Regions from separate parts of the Homo sapiens genome. Here region 1 is linked to region 2. The links are contacts of gene promoters, found by promoter capture Hi-C in blood cells and fetal thymus (Javierre and others, 2016). All regions are on one chromosome and are shown on one strand. The core of a region is centred on a gene start or on the middle of the fragment in contact, and the rest is flanking DNA. Distances in the headings are between cores, read along the strand shown. Region 1 overlaps ARMH3 (armadillo like helical domain containing 3). Region 2 holds the start of HPS6 (HPS6 biogenesis of lysosomal organelles complex 2 subunit 3).

The links. The method cuts DNA at HindIII sites, captures the fragments that hold promoters and counts their contacts. A CHiCAGO score of 5 or more calls a contact.
Region 1: a contact is called between a fragment that was not itself captured here and the fragment with the promoter of HPS6 in region 2, in 1 of 17 cell types (erythroblasts). The highest score is 5.9, in erythroblasts.

The regions. Positions count from the first base shown.
Region 1 is chr10:101,897,615-101,903,075 of GRCh38, reverse strand. The region is part of intron 23 of ARMH3 (armadillo like helical domain containing 3); the gene reads left to right. Among named protein-coding and RNA genes, the nearest start is that of KCNIP2, 57 kb to the right of the region's middle. RefSeq lists enhancers at 1-610, 610-769. The HindIII fragment of the contact is 2,718 bases long and covers 844-3,561 here.
Region 2 is chr10:102,061,976-102,067,831 of GRCh38, reverse strand. It overlaps HPS6 (HPS6 biogenesis of lysosomal organelles complex 2 subunit 3), which reads right to left and starts at 2,483. Exons shown (of 1, transcript NM_024747.6): 1 at 1-2,483. The coding sequence starts at 2,357. The coding sequence ends at 30. RefSeq lists a silencer at 2,062-2,731 and an enhancer at 2,942-2,991. The HindIII fragment of the contact is 26,306 bases long and covers 1-5,856 here.

The sequences.
Region 1 (5,461 bases), core at 953-3,452, 160 kb after region 2:
CCTTTCAGGAGGAAGAAAACTTACTGCTCTTTCTGGTATATTGAAGAGATGGCAGCTAATAACCTCTTTGTGAGCATAAAACAATTATACCAGCCTCCTGTGGAGACAATCTGCCAGAGCCAACCGCCTCACCCTCCGCATGGGCTTCATTTTCTTACTCTGGAATCTCATCGACTCTCCCCTAAAGACCTTCATCTTGTTGCACTATTATGATGAATGTTTGGAGCTGGCTCTCACCCCCTGCTTTACTAGCTATTACTGGAGGTGCCGTCAAAGAATCAGGCCCCAAATTTATCCTCCCATTAAGTCCTCTCCTGGGCAGCGCTGCTTGGTTCTGAGTAGCAGTCATCTAGTTTCCCCTCCTTTTCCCACCTCCCGCTGCCTTTGAATGTAAGGAAACTGCAGGCCCTGTTGCAGACAAAGAGCTGTGGTAGAAAGTAAGGTTGCAAATCACTTTCTACCACAGCTCTTTGTTTGCTCTTGTTCTAGACCTGAAGAGAAGTGCGCACGTATGAGTGCCTGTGCGTGCATCTGCTGTGAGACCTCCAACATCATTTTCTGTCACAAGCCCAGCCCAGAAGTGCCACAAGTGACATTTCTTCAGTTGGTTGGTTGTATCTGTCTCCCAGCAATGTCTTTAGGATTTCTTCTCCATAATAAGTTAGAGATGTATCGGTTTCTGGACACAGGGACCTTACCTACTTCTGTCTATTCATATCTGTTCCTCTGAGTAATAGACATATGGTCTTTGGCTTTTTAAACTAGTTATATGATTTTTTGAATTTGTCTCACAGCTACTCTTAACAGCCTTCCCCTTGTGAGAGTTTCTGTTGAATAAAAGCTTTCTGGGTCTCTGATGTAGTTGGTTGGCATTTGGTCAATTTGGGGCTTTCATTTTGACTCTCAAAATTATTTGCAGAAAGAAATAGGGCCAAAAGGTGCTTCAAGTGCCATTTGTAAATCTTAGGATAATTGATAAGTATTCATTTATTCTAGCAAGCAGTGGATTTTGTTAAATAATAGATACTGATTAGGTCTCAACAAATCTGACCCTGTTAGCTTTGGTGCTAACTCATTAATAAAGCTGATGTTGAGGCTGCCATTAACATTAGAAAAGCGATGTTCCCTAGTAATATTTCTTTCCTTGAGGAGAAACTATTTTGCAATGAAGTTTTAACTTCTTCCCTTTTCAGAGAGACTATCAACTTCACTTAGGCAGAACGGTTCAATACTTTGGGCAGCTTGTTTATTCTTTATTTACTTCTTGATTTACCAAACTATCCCATTTTCTTTACCTCACTGACATAACTGCTACCCAGCCCCCCTGCTTTCTCCCATCCTCTCTACCTCTCAAGCCTCCCTTCTGTAGCCAACCCTACCACCTGCCACAGTATCCACACCCAGGCTTCTTATAGGAAGCCATCTCTGTGAGGGTCTGTCTGAAAGCAACATAAGTCAGTGCTGGAGCAGGTGAAAGCAGCCTGCTTTTTCAGAGCTGACGAGAAGGGCGAAGCTCTCTGTCACAGTGGGTGGGTGAGCAGCTAGGGCCGAGTAACGCCACGTCTCAGTGGTTAGCACCTGCAGGCTCAGAGCTGACAGTGCACTGTAATAAGATTCATCTTTGTTCACTTAACTGATGTGGGCTTTATGGTAAATGTTCGTTTGCTTAATTACTTTGGCAGACTTGCTGATTGCCTTTCCTGAGGAGTTCTAAAAGGTCCCCCTGGGATGGAGTATAAGCCTGTTTCCGTGTCTTTTAATTTCATTCTTTTCCTGGAGTACTTGAAAACCAGTACGTGATCCATATGGCCCACCCTCTCATCTCTCCTGTATGTGAACATCAGGACCACTGCTATCTAGTATGGAATCCATATGGCCCACACTGGACCACTGGGAAATCTTGACAGGTTTCTTCCTCCTTTGTGCACATGAGATCCTCCTCCTCCACCACTGAGGTATTATGTATGGCTCATCTAGTCTAGTTTAGGATTCATATGCCTCTTTTTCTCTAACTGGCATGGGATCCACAGAATATTTCCCTCCTTCCTCAGTCTAGCATGTGATCCACTAAAATAATTTCCCTTTATTTTTAGAGACAGGGTCTTGCTCTGTTGCCCAGGCTGGAGTACAGTGGCATGATCACAGCTCACTGTAACCTCAAACTCCTGGGTTCAAGCAATTCTCATGCCTCATCCTCATGAATGGCTAGGGCTATAGGTGTGCACATTATGCTGGCTAATTTAAAAAAAATTTTTTGTAGATATGGGGGTCTCACTATGTTGCCCAAGCTGCTCTTGAACTCCTGGCCTCAAGCAGTTCTCCCACCTGGGCGTCCCAAAGTGTTGGGATTACAGGCATAAGCCACTGTGACCAGCCAATTCGCCTTTATTTTTGAAGTGACGGGAAAAGAAGACTAGTCAATTGCTCATTTTCTTGCTCTCCCATGCTTAAAATTTAAGTGTCTTATAATAAATTGATTAATTGGGCTAATGGGAATGAGGTGTAATTAAAATATTTCAGGTTTTTGTCTCATGCCAGTTTTTAAAAAGTTCTTAATTCATATTCAAGAGATTGGAATGTTCACCATTAATCAAAATTAGATCAGTTTTGGGGGTTTTGAGCTTATCTCCAGTGCTTCAGAATTCCTCTTAGGTATGTGTTAGGATTTTCTTATGTTCTGAAAAGGGACAGAACATCTAATACACATTTTCTTATAGGCCATTTTGTTCCTTTATATTCATTTGGCATTTCTGAGCGTGTAGAGGAGCCTTGCTTCTGGAAATAGGAAATCCAGGAAAAGGGAAATAGGAAAACCAATTCCAAAGATTATTAGAGGTTTTCATTCTGTAGCCCCAGGAACTCTGCCAGTAACTTCGGACCTGCCACTAGAGAACAGAGTAAGGTAGTCAGAAGCACAGAGTGATGGATCTGAGCAACGATAGGATAATCTTATAGGTGTTTTATGTTTAGGAAAGTTTTGGAGCCTCTTTTCATTTATTGAAAGATTTAATAAAAAGTAGACATAAGGGGAATGGATTAAGTGATGATGCCTTTTATGGAAATGTAGATGGTCCATTTGACTTTTGTGGTTCTTTCAACACTTGTGGTTCATTCTTCTCCATTTACATTGGATCATTGGGTAAAGTAAGCAACTAGATGCACTGGTCAGTAGTTTATCCTTCTTGCTGGTTGTCAAAATGCCTTTTATACTAACTAAGGTTCCATTTTTGTGTCTTTGGTCCTGAAAAGAATGGCCACAGGGACAGTAGTATAATTTATGGAGGGAAATAATTGTCCTGAAAGGGTTAAGACCTAAACCTTAGGGGGTAAGTTAGAAGGATAATCCTAACAGGTCAGTTGCTGATGTTTTGATTAGATAGTTTCAAAGTGAAAAGGTTAGAAGGTATTCTTACTTGAGGTTTTATTTTGTTTAATGTTAATCAGCAGAGTCTTTGAGGCTTGTAATGCACTTCTGTTAACAGGCATCAAGGGAAATTGCTTTTTTTGTTGTTGGTGATTTGGGTGGGCTGAAGATTCATTGACTCCATGAAGAAGGAAGCTTAGTACTGCATGAAATGGGAGTCTGTGAGGCAATTCTGAAGGTGAAAGAAATGTTAGTTTAAAATTAAATAACTCAACCTCAGATGAACCATTTTAACTACTGCCACATACACTCAGTCATACCTTTACCCCTTCTCAAAAGCCAGTATTTTACCTGTATGCCTGAAGGTTTCCCAGGTAAAAGCAATTACGAATATGATGGTTTTCTTGTCTTTAATCTCAGATACCTGAGAACATACTCTGTAGTATATTGCATAGTAGTATATCACTGGACTGGTCTAGGAAAAGGGAAGCTGCCTTGGGGGAAAAAAAATTCCTTAGGGCTAGTTAGATGGTATACAGGAAAACAGAGAGGAAAGTTTTGGAAGTGAAATTCAACCAAAGAAACTACTACTCAGAGAGGTTGGTCTCTTGCCCAAAGTCACACAGTTAATAAGTGGAGGAATCCAGATTTTTTCAAATCTCCTTTCTCTAAAGCCTTGCTGTTTTCTGTATGAACCATGTTGTTCGGGGAAGCAATGGTATTTTAACTGGGCCTTCAAGGAAAAAGATGACTTAGGCTTTTTAGTGGTGATAACATTCTATGTGAAGAGATCCAGGTAAACAAAAGCAAGACATCCAGGTGTAAATATTTAGTAAGCATTTGAAAATACAGGGCTACAGCTCTTAATGAGGTTGGAGCTTAAGATCCAAATTTTTTACTAAGCTTGAGAAATTCACCCACAATCAGACTCGTTAATGTAAATCTGGTAGTCTTATAAGAGTAGTTTTAGGGTGAAACCTTCAAGAATCTTCATATACATACATATATGTGTGTGTGTGTGTGCGCGTGTGCGCGTATTGAGTATAACAGTTATGTTTCCTCCTTCCTTGGAATGAGAGTTACAAAAACAACTTTTGCTTGTTTTTCCCTGTTCTGCCTGAAAGATGTACATAGCAGCTTTTAGAGATAGCCTGCTTCCTTCAGGTATCTCAGTAATGAAACAATCGCCATGTTCTGAGCTTCTGAATGAAACTATTTATTTATTGTTTCATTAAAGACTCGTAGATGCTTCTGTCCATGGGAGATTGCATTTTGGAGGATTTGCTTTAGCTTTATATTGGATATGAGGAGGAATCCACATTTTCTTTTTCTTCTTCTTTTTTTTTTATTTCTTAAGACTGGGTCTTGCTCTGTCACCCAGGCTAGGGAGCGCAGTGGTGTGATCATGGTTCCCTGCAGCCTTGACATCCCTGGCTCAAATCATCCTCCCATCTCAGCCTCCTGAGTAGCTGGGACTACAACAGGCACATGTCACCATGCCCAGCTAATTTTAAAAAAAAAAAATTTTTTTTTTTGTGCTCCTGAGCTAAGCACTTCTCCCACTTCAGCCTCGCAAAGTGCTGGAATTACAGGGGAGAGCCACCGTGCCTGGTCCACATTTTCTCTTAAGCTATATTGCCTACATTGTTAAAGGAACATTTCCATGCTTATCTTTAATGCAAGTTCGACATTAACTATGTGTCTCAGTTAACAACCACCCGGCACTTGGGAAAAGAGAGCTGCTTTGCAGAGTCATGAGTCAGAGAGAATAAGTTTACAATGGACCAAGAAATCCCCAGCCGGTTTACTGTTCATCCTTACTGTTCCATCTATCCACTTCATTTTGCTTCAGCCTGTATAAGTGACCTCTATCTTCTGCAGTCAGAAGTTGACAGTTGCATTGGAGGGTGGCCCAGATTCCTGCTCTTAAAGGTGCATTGGGCACAGTGCCATCCCTCACTGTGGCTGGCTTTAGCAATTTCTCTTTACTATGATGTTGTCTATTTATTTTTCCTTCCCCTTTGGGACTTTCTAATTCAGTGGCTTTAGAGGCCCCGTATCAGAATAAAACACATTCCCCCACACCTCACCTCATCC
Region 2 (5,856 bases), core at 1,234-3,733:
CCCTGAGTGTTCTGATGCCTGAAGGGTAGTCATAGGTCCCGAGGTGGAGTCGGGGGTGGAGTGCTGGGGTCCCATAGGATGTCCTCATATGGGCTTAGAACTGGGCCCGACAGCCATCCTTGAGCCCCAGTCTGCTCCAGCAGGGCTTTGAGCAAGCCCACAGTGAGAGGGGGCTCTGCTCCAGGCTCAGGGAATGGGGTTGGGGGCCCCACCTCATCTGGGAGGTATGTCCTCAGTAGAAGCAGGAGCTCAGCTGGAGCCAGTTCTGGTGGGCACAGGCGGCAAAGGAGGGGGAGGTGAGCATCAAGCCGGCGGTGCTGGGCAAACTCGGCCAGCAGCAGTTTGAAGATTTCACTTCGAAGCAGGGGACTGGAGGGGCCGAGGGCCAGGCCAGCATCCAGAGCCCGATCCCATTGTTCCTTTTGCACCAGCTGCCCGACAGCTTGGAGCACAGCTTTAGGCCGCCCACTGCTCAAGAGCAGCTCTAGCTCCAGAGCCTCAGGCCTGGTCCCCTCCTCACCTAGCACTGCCAGAGCTCGGCGATACAGGGGCAGTCCTGGGCCCCCTGCCCCCCAGCCCGGCCCGCCCTGCTGCTGTGCCAGCTCCACAAAGGGTGGCAGCCATCGAGGCTCCAGCTGGCACAGACACTGGCACAGGAGTTCAAAGGGGGGCAGTATTCCATTGGGGGGTTCCTTTCCAGCGGTTATTCCCCCTAACACTTTCTTCCACACATCAGGGGGTGCTTGGGACCTCAGCTTGCCATTCCCATCTAGCTGGAGCTGCAGGGCCCTGAGGGTGGCACCCCAGGCTGCTGTAGGAAGGGCTTGGAAAACGGTGTTGAGCTGGGCTAGCTGGTCTCCTATCAACTCAGTCCTCAGCAGGCGTGCCACTTCCTGCTCCGCCAGCTCAGTCCAACCAGCCTCCTCATCATCCCCAGCCACCAGCTGGGCCTTCAGCTGTTCTAAGCCTCGGTAATCCCGAAGCTCGGTCCTCAACATGGTCAGCAGTGCAGATGGGGGCAGGTGGCCCTGGAGGATGGAGGCCAGAGCCTGAGGTGCCCGGAATGTGCTGCTGTGTCTCAGTTCTTCTGGAGTGAGCTGGGCACCCCGCAGGCTCCGCCGCTGGTAGTACCCGCAGGCCTCCTCAAACACCAGATCCTTGGCTGAAGGCAACTCAACACCCTGTGGGGCTTCCCAGCCCACACAAAACAGACCCAAGGCTGAAAGCAGACGAAGATTCCCTCGGGTCTCCAGCTCTTCCTCATCCTCCATGCCGGGGGCTGGCGGTTCTAGCAGATGTACCCTGTCTGTACTTAGGACCTTCCTCTCCAGCAGCTGCCCACTGCCCATGTCCAGCAGTTCCAATGTGGAGCCCAGCACACAGGCCAGAGTGCCCTGAAATGTGCCTAGGGCTGCAGACCCCCACGGGCCTACAGGTGCCTCCTGCAGGGTGCCCACAGCCCGCGTACCACCGTGGGACTGCAATAGGCTCACAGTGCCCCCGAAGTCAAGCAACAGCAGGCCCTGGGGAGTTGGGGCCCAGGTGTGTACAGCCAGTGGCTCCCTGGGGGACAGCAACCCAGGAAGGCCTCGGAGCAGGGTCCGGAAGTCCCATGTGTCCCCTCGTCCAGGATTCAGACTCTTACTGTAGGAGAGACCAAGCCGTGGGGCAGCCACCATCACTTTGCCCTTGCCTGGGCTCCAGATGAGTAGAACGTGGGCCACGCCAGGCCAGGTGGTGGCAGTGGGCACCAGGAAGAGTTGTCTGCAGGAGGCCAGCAGCCCGAAGGCAGGGCAGTGGTGCAGCAGGACGTGTGTGCGGCCCAGGCTGGTGCTAGCTTCCCCGCTGGGCTCCAGAGTCCGGACGCACACACAGTGGCTGAAAGCGGCTGCTGGCGACCCTGACGGGCCCTCGGCCCGGGCCTGCCGCTCCTCGCACCACACCAGGCGGCCTCGGAGCGCCGCCACTGCCACAACGCGGGCTCCCCCGCCCGGACACAGCTCGGTGCTCTGCAGCGGCCGCCAGCCAGGCCCCACGCCCGCGCCCCACACCTCGGCCAGGCCACTCTCCCACACCAGCACCAGCGCCGGCCGCGCTGGCCACGGCAGGAAGAAGGCGTCCAGCGGGGAGGGCTGGCCGGCCGGCCAGGCCCGCTCTAGCTCCGCGCCGGGCCCTCGCGACGCGACTAGCAGCTGTGGGGCTACCGCCCCAGGGGGTCGCAGGAGCAGCAAGTGGCGGCCGTCCGGACTGCCACGGACTCGGACCGCTGAGTCCCCGGCCACCAGCTCCCGGAGCCGCGCCGCGCCGCCGAAGGCGCTCAGGTCCGAGAGCAGCCGCAGAGTCCCCGAGCGCTTCATGGCGCCGCTGCGCGGGAGCGCGCCCAGGCTTTGCCCAGGTCCAGCCGCCCAGCAGGGCGAGGCCCGATTCTCGGGGGAGCGGAGCAGGGCCAAGACTTCCGTCTCCCGTGGATGAGGTGAGCAGAGGCCGGGCCGAGCGTCGACTCCGCCCCGCCCGGCCGGCTCCGGGATGCCTCCCGCAGTCGCTGGGCCGACACTACACGCCCGCCGGGGGAGGAGCCACGGGAGCGCCCCAGGGGCTCAGCGCCTGGACCGCGCCCGCCCGGGCACGCTCTCGGCGCAGGGGGAGGCCCTTCCCCAGACCCCAGGACGCCGCCCAGTGGCCCGGAGTCCCACGCAGGAATAGGGATTCCAGCCCCCTGAGCCCCTCTCCCAAGAATTTCACCCCAATTTACTCATTCAGGAAATTTTCGTTGAGCACATGCTTTGTGCCAGGCTCTGAGTAGACAGCCCTAAACAAAATAGAAAACCTCAACCTCATGGAGATGACAATCTAGTGGAAATAGTAAACATGGCTGGGCGCGGTGGCTCACGCCTATAATCTTAGCACTTTGGGAGGCTGAGGTGGGAGGATTGCTTGAGGCCAGGCGTTCGAGACCAGCCTGAGCAACATAGGCAGACCTTGTCTCTATAAAAATTTTAAAAAGACAGAAAGAAAGAAAGAGAGAGAGAGAGAAGGAAGGAAGGAAAGAAAACCACTTCCATATCACTATGTGACAGCCTTCTCTATCCCCTAGTCCCTTTTACAGATAAGGAGGATGAAGCACAGAGAGATTACGTAACTTAACTAAGATCAAGCAGGTATTAAGTGGTGGAGGTGGGATTTCAACCACAGGCACTCTGGCTCCAGAGTCAGTGCAACAAATCACTTTATCATATCAACAACTCATCACCCAAACCAAAACAGAGAAACATAATTTAGAAGCACTGAGCCTGTGTACCGACTCTTCAGTAACACCTACAAATTTGTATGCAGGGGTCCTTCCACCCCTTGACTGCCTTTTCAGGTGAGCAGTTTTCCTCCTCTCTCCAAGGCCAATCCCTCTTTATGAGCCCTGCCTCTCCTCCCCGGCCCCTACCTTCCTTGAGAACTTGCATCCATTTCTGTTTCACTGCCCTCATTCCGTCCTCAGCATAGAAATACCCTGTCATCTCTCCTGTCTTGGAATTCGTTCTTTCATCCTCATCTCCCCACTTCCACCTCCATCACTCCCTCCCCTTTTCCTTTCTCAGTCAATTTTCTTGCAAGGATGCTACATTTGCCACCTCCACTTTCTTTCCTTCTATCCTCAACCCACTACTTCCCTGAAGTAGCTTTTGCTGAGGTCTTCAAGGACATTTTTATTTGACAGCCTTCTCATTGAAAGTCCCTCCTGTGGTTTGCACTGCATCTTTCCTGGCTGGTTTTCCTTTCCTTTTATTTTATTTTATTTTTTTATTTTTATTTTTAGATAGCACTGCCTTCAGAGTTTTATTTGCCTTTGGTTCATCTTCCTCCATCCTTTATTGATTGATTGATTGAGATAGAGTCTCACTCTGTCGCCCACGTTTGAGTGAAGTGGCACCATCTTGGCTCAGTGCAACCTCTGCCTCCTGGGTTCAAGCGATTCTCCTGCCCAGCCTCCCGAGTAGCTGGGATTAGAGGCACCCACCACCACGCCCACCTAATTTTTGTATTTTCAGTAGAGACAGGGTTTCACCTTGCTGGCCGGGATGGTCTTGATCTCTTGACCTCGTGATCCACATGCCTTGGCCTCCCAAAGTGCTGGGATTACAGGCATGAGCCACCGTGCCTGGCCTATTTATTTATTTATTGAGACAGAGTCTTGCTCCGTTGCCCAGGTTGAAGTGCAGTGGCGCAATCTCGGCTCACTGCTATCTCCATGTCCCAGGTTCAAGCGATTCTCCTGCCTAAGCCTCCCTCCCTAGTAGCTGGGATTTCAGAAGTGCACCACCATGCCCAGCTACTTTTTATATTTTTAGTAGAGGTCGGGTTTTGCTATGTTGGTTGGCCAGGCTGGTCTCGAACTCCAGGCCTCAAGTGATCTGCCCGCCTTAGCCTCTCAAAATGTTAGAATTACAGGTGTGAGCCACTGTACCCGGCCCCTCCATCATCCTTTAAATGTGCTCTTCCTCCTATATCCTGATTCCACTTTGAGCCCCTTTATTTTTTTCTTTTGCCTACAGCTCAGACGTCTCTGCTAAGCTCCACACAAAAAAAGAGCATCCAAATGTCTACTAAATATTTATTTCTGCCTAAGATGTCTCATCTCACAGACATTTCATTCTCAACATGTCCTAAACATCATCTTCCTGCCCCAAACTGCTCCTCCTTCAGTTGCTCTTAGTTGACATAGATTTCTTTTGTTTTTGTATCCTATCCTCATATTTAGAGTAGAGCCTGACACAAAGTCTCCACAGATGTTTGGTGAAGGAATCATTACGTTTTCATGGGCACATGTTTGTGTGTGTGATATCACTTAGAAAACTTTTCCTTAAAAATTACAGAAGTAGGCCAGGCACGGTGGTTCACGCATGCAGTTCCAGCTACTCAGGAGGCTGAGGCAAGAGGATTACTTGAGGCCAGGAGTTGGAGTCTGTGGTGTGCAATGATTGTGCCTGTGAATAGCCACTGCACTACAGCCTGGGCAACATGGCAAGCATCCTGTCTCTTTAAAAAAAAAAATTACAGAAACAGACCATGGCTGTCTTAAGCAAAAATGAAGTTATTTAGAAGAACATAGGGGACTCACAGAATCTTCAGGAGAAAGGAAGAACAGGTGTGGCAAATGGTCATGAACCAAGACACCCACACCCACCAAATACTAAGAAGTAGGAAGCACGACTTTTTTTTTTTTTTTTTTAGACAGAGTCTTGCTGTCTCCCCAGGCTGGAGTGCAGTGGCACAATCTTGGCTCACTGCAACCTCTGCCTCCTGGGATCAAGCAATTCTTCCACCTCAGCCTCCCGAGTAGCTGGTATCACAGGTGCACACCACCATGCCCTGCTAATTTTTGTATTTTTTGTAGAGACGGGGTTTTGCCATGTTGGCCAGGCTGGTCTTGAAGGTCCTGGCCTCAGGTGATCCACCTGCCTCGGCCTCCCAAAGTGCTGGGATTACAGGTATGAGCCACTGTGCCTGGCCACAACTGTTTTTTTAGCCGGAACAATTTGTTAAAGATACCATGATCTCTGGTGCTATACAAGCTGATCACTGCACTGGAAGACAGCACCTGTTATGAATAAATTCTGATCATACCTTCTATTGGGGTTCACCTCATTACACCTTTCTCTTACACCTGCCTACTTTTTTATATTCTATTAGGGTACAACTTTGATTTTTTTAAAAAACTGCAAATTGGCTGGGTGCGGTAGCTCACACCTGTAGTCCCAGCACTTTGGGGGGCTGAGGCAGGCGGATCACCTGAGTTCGGGAGTTCTAGACCAGCCTGACTAACATGGAGAAACCCTGTCTCCACTAAAAGTACAAAATTAGCCC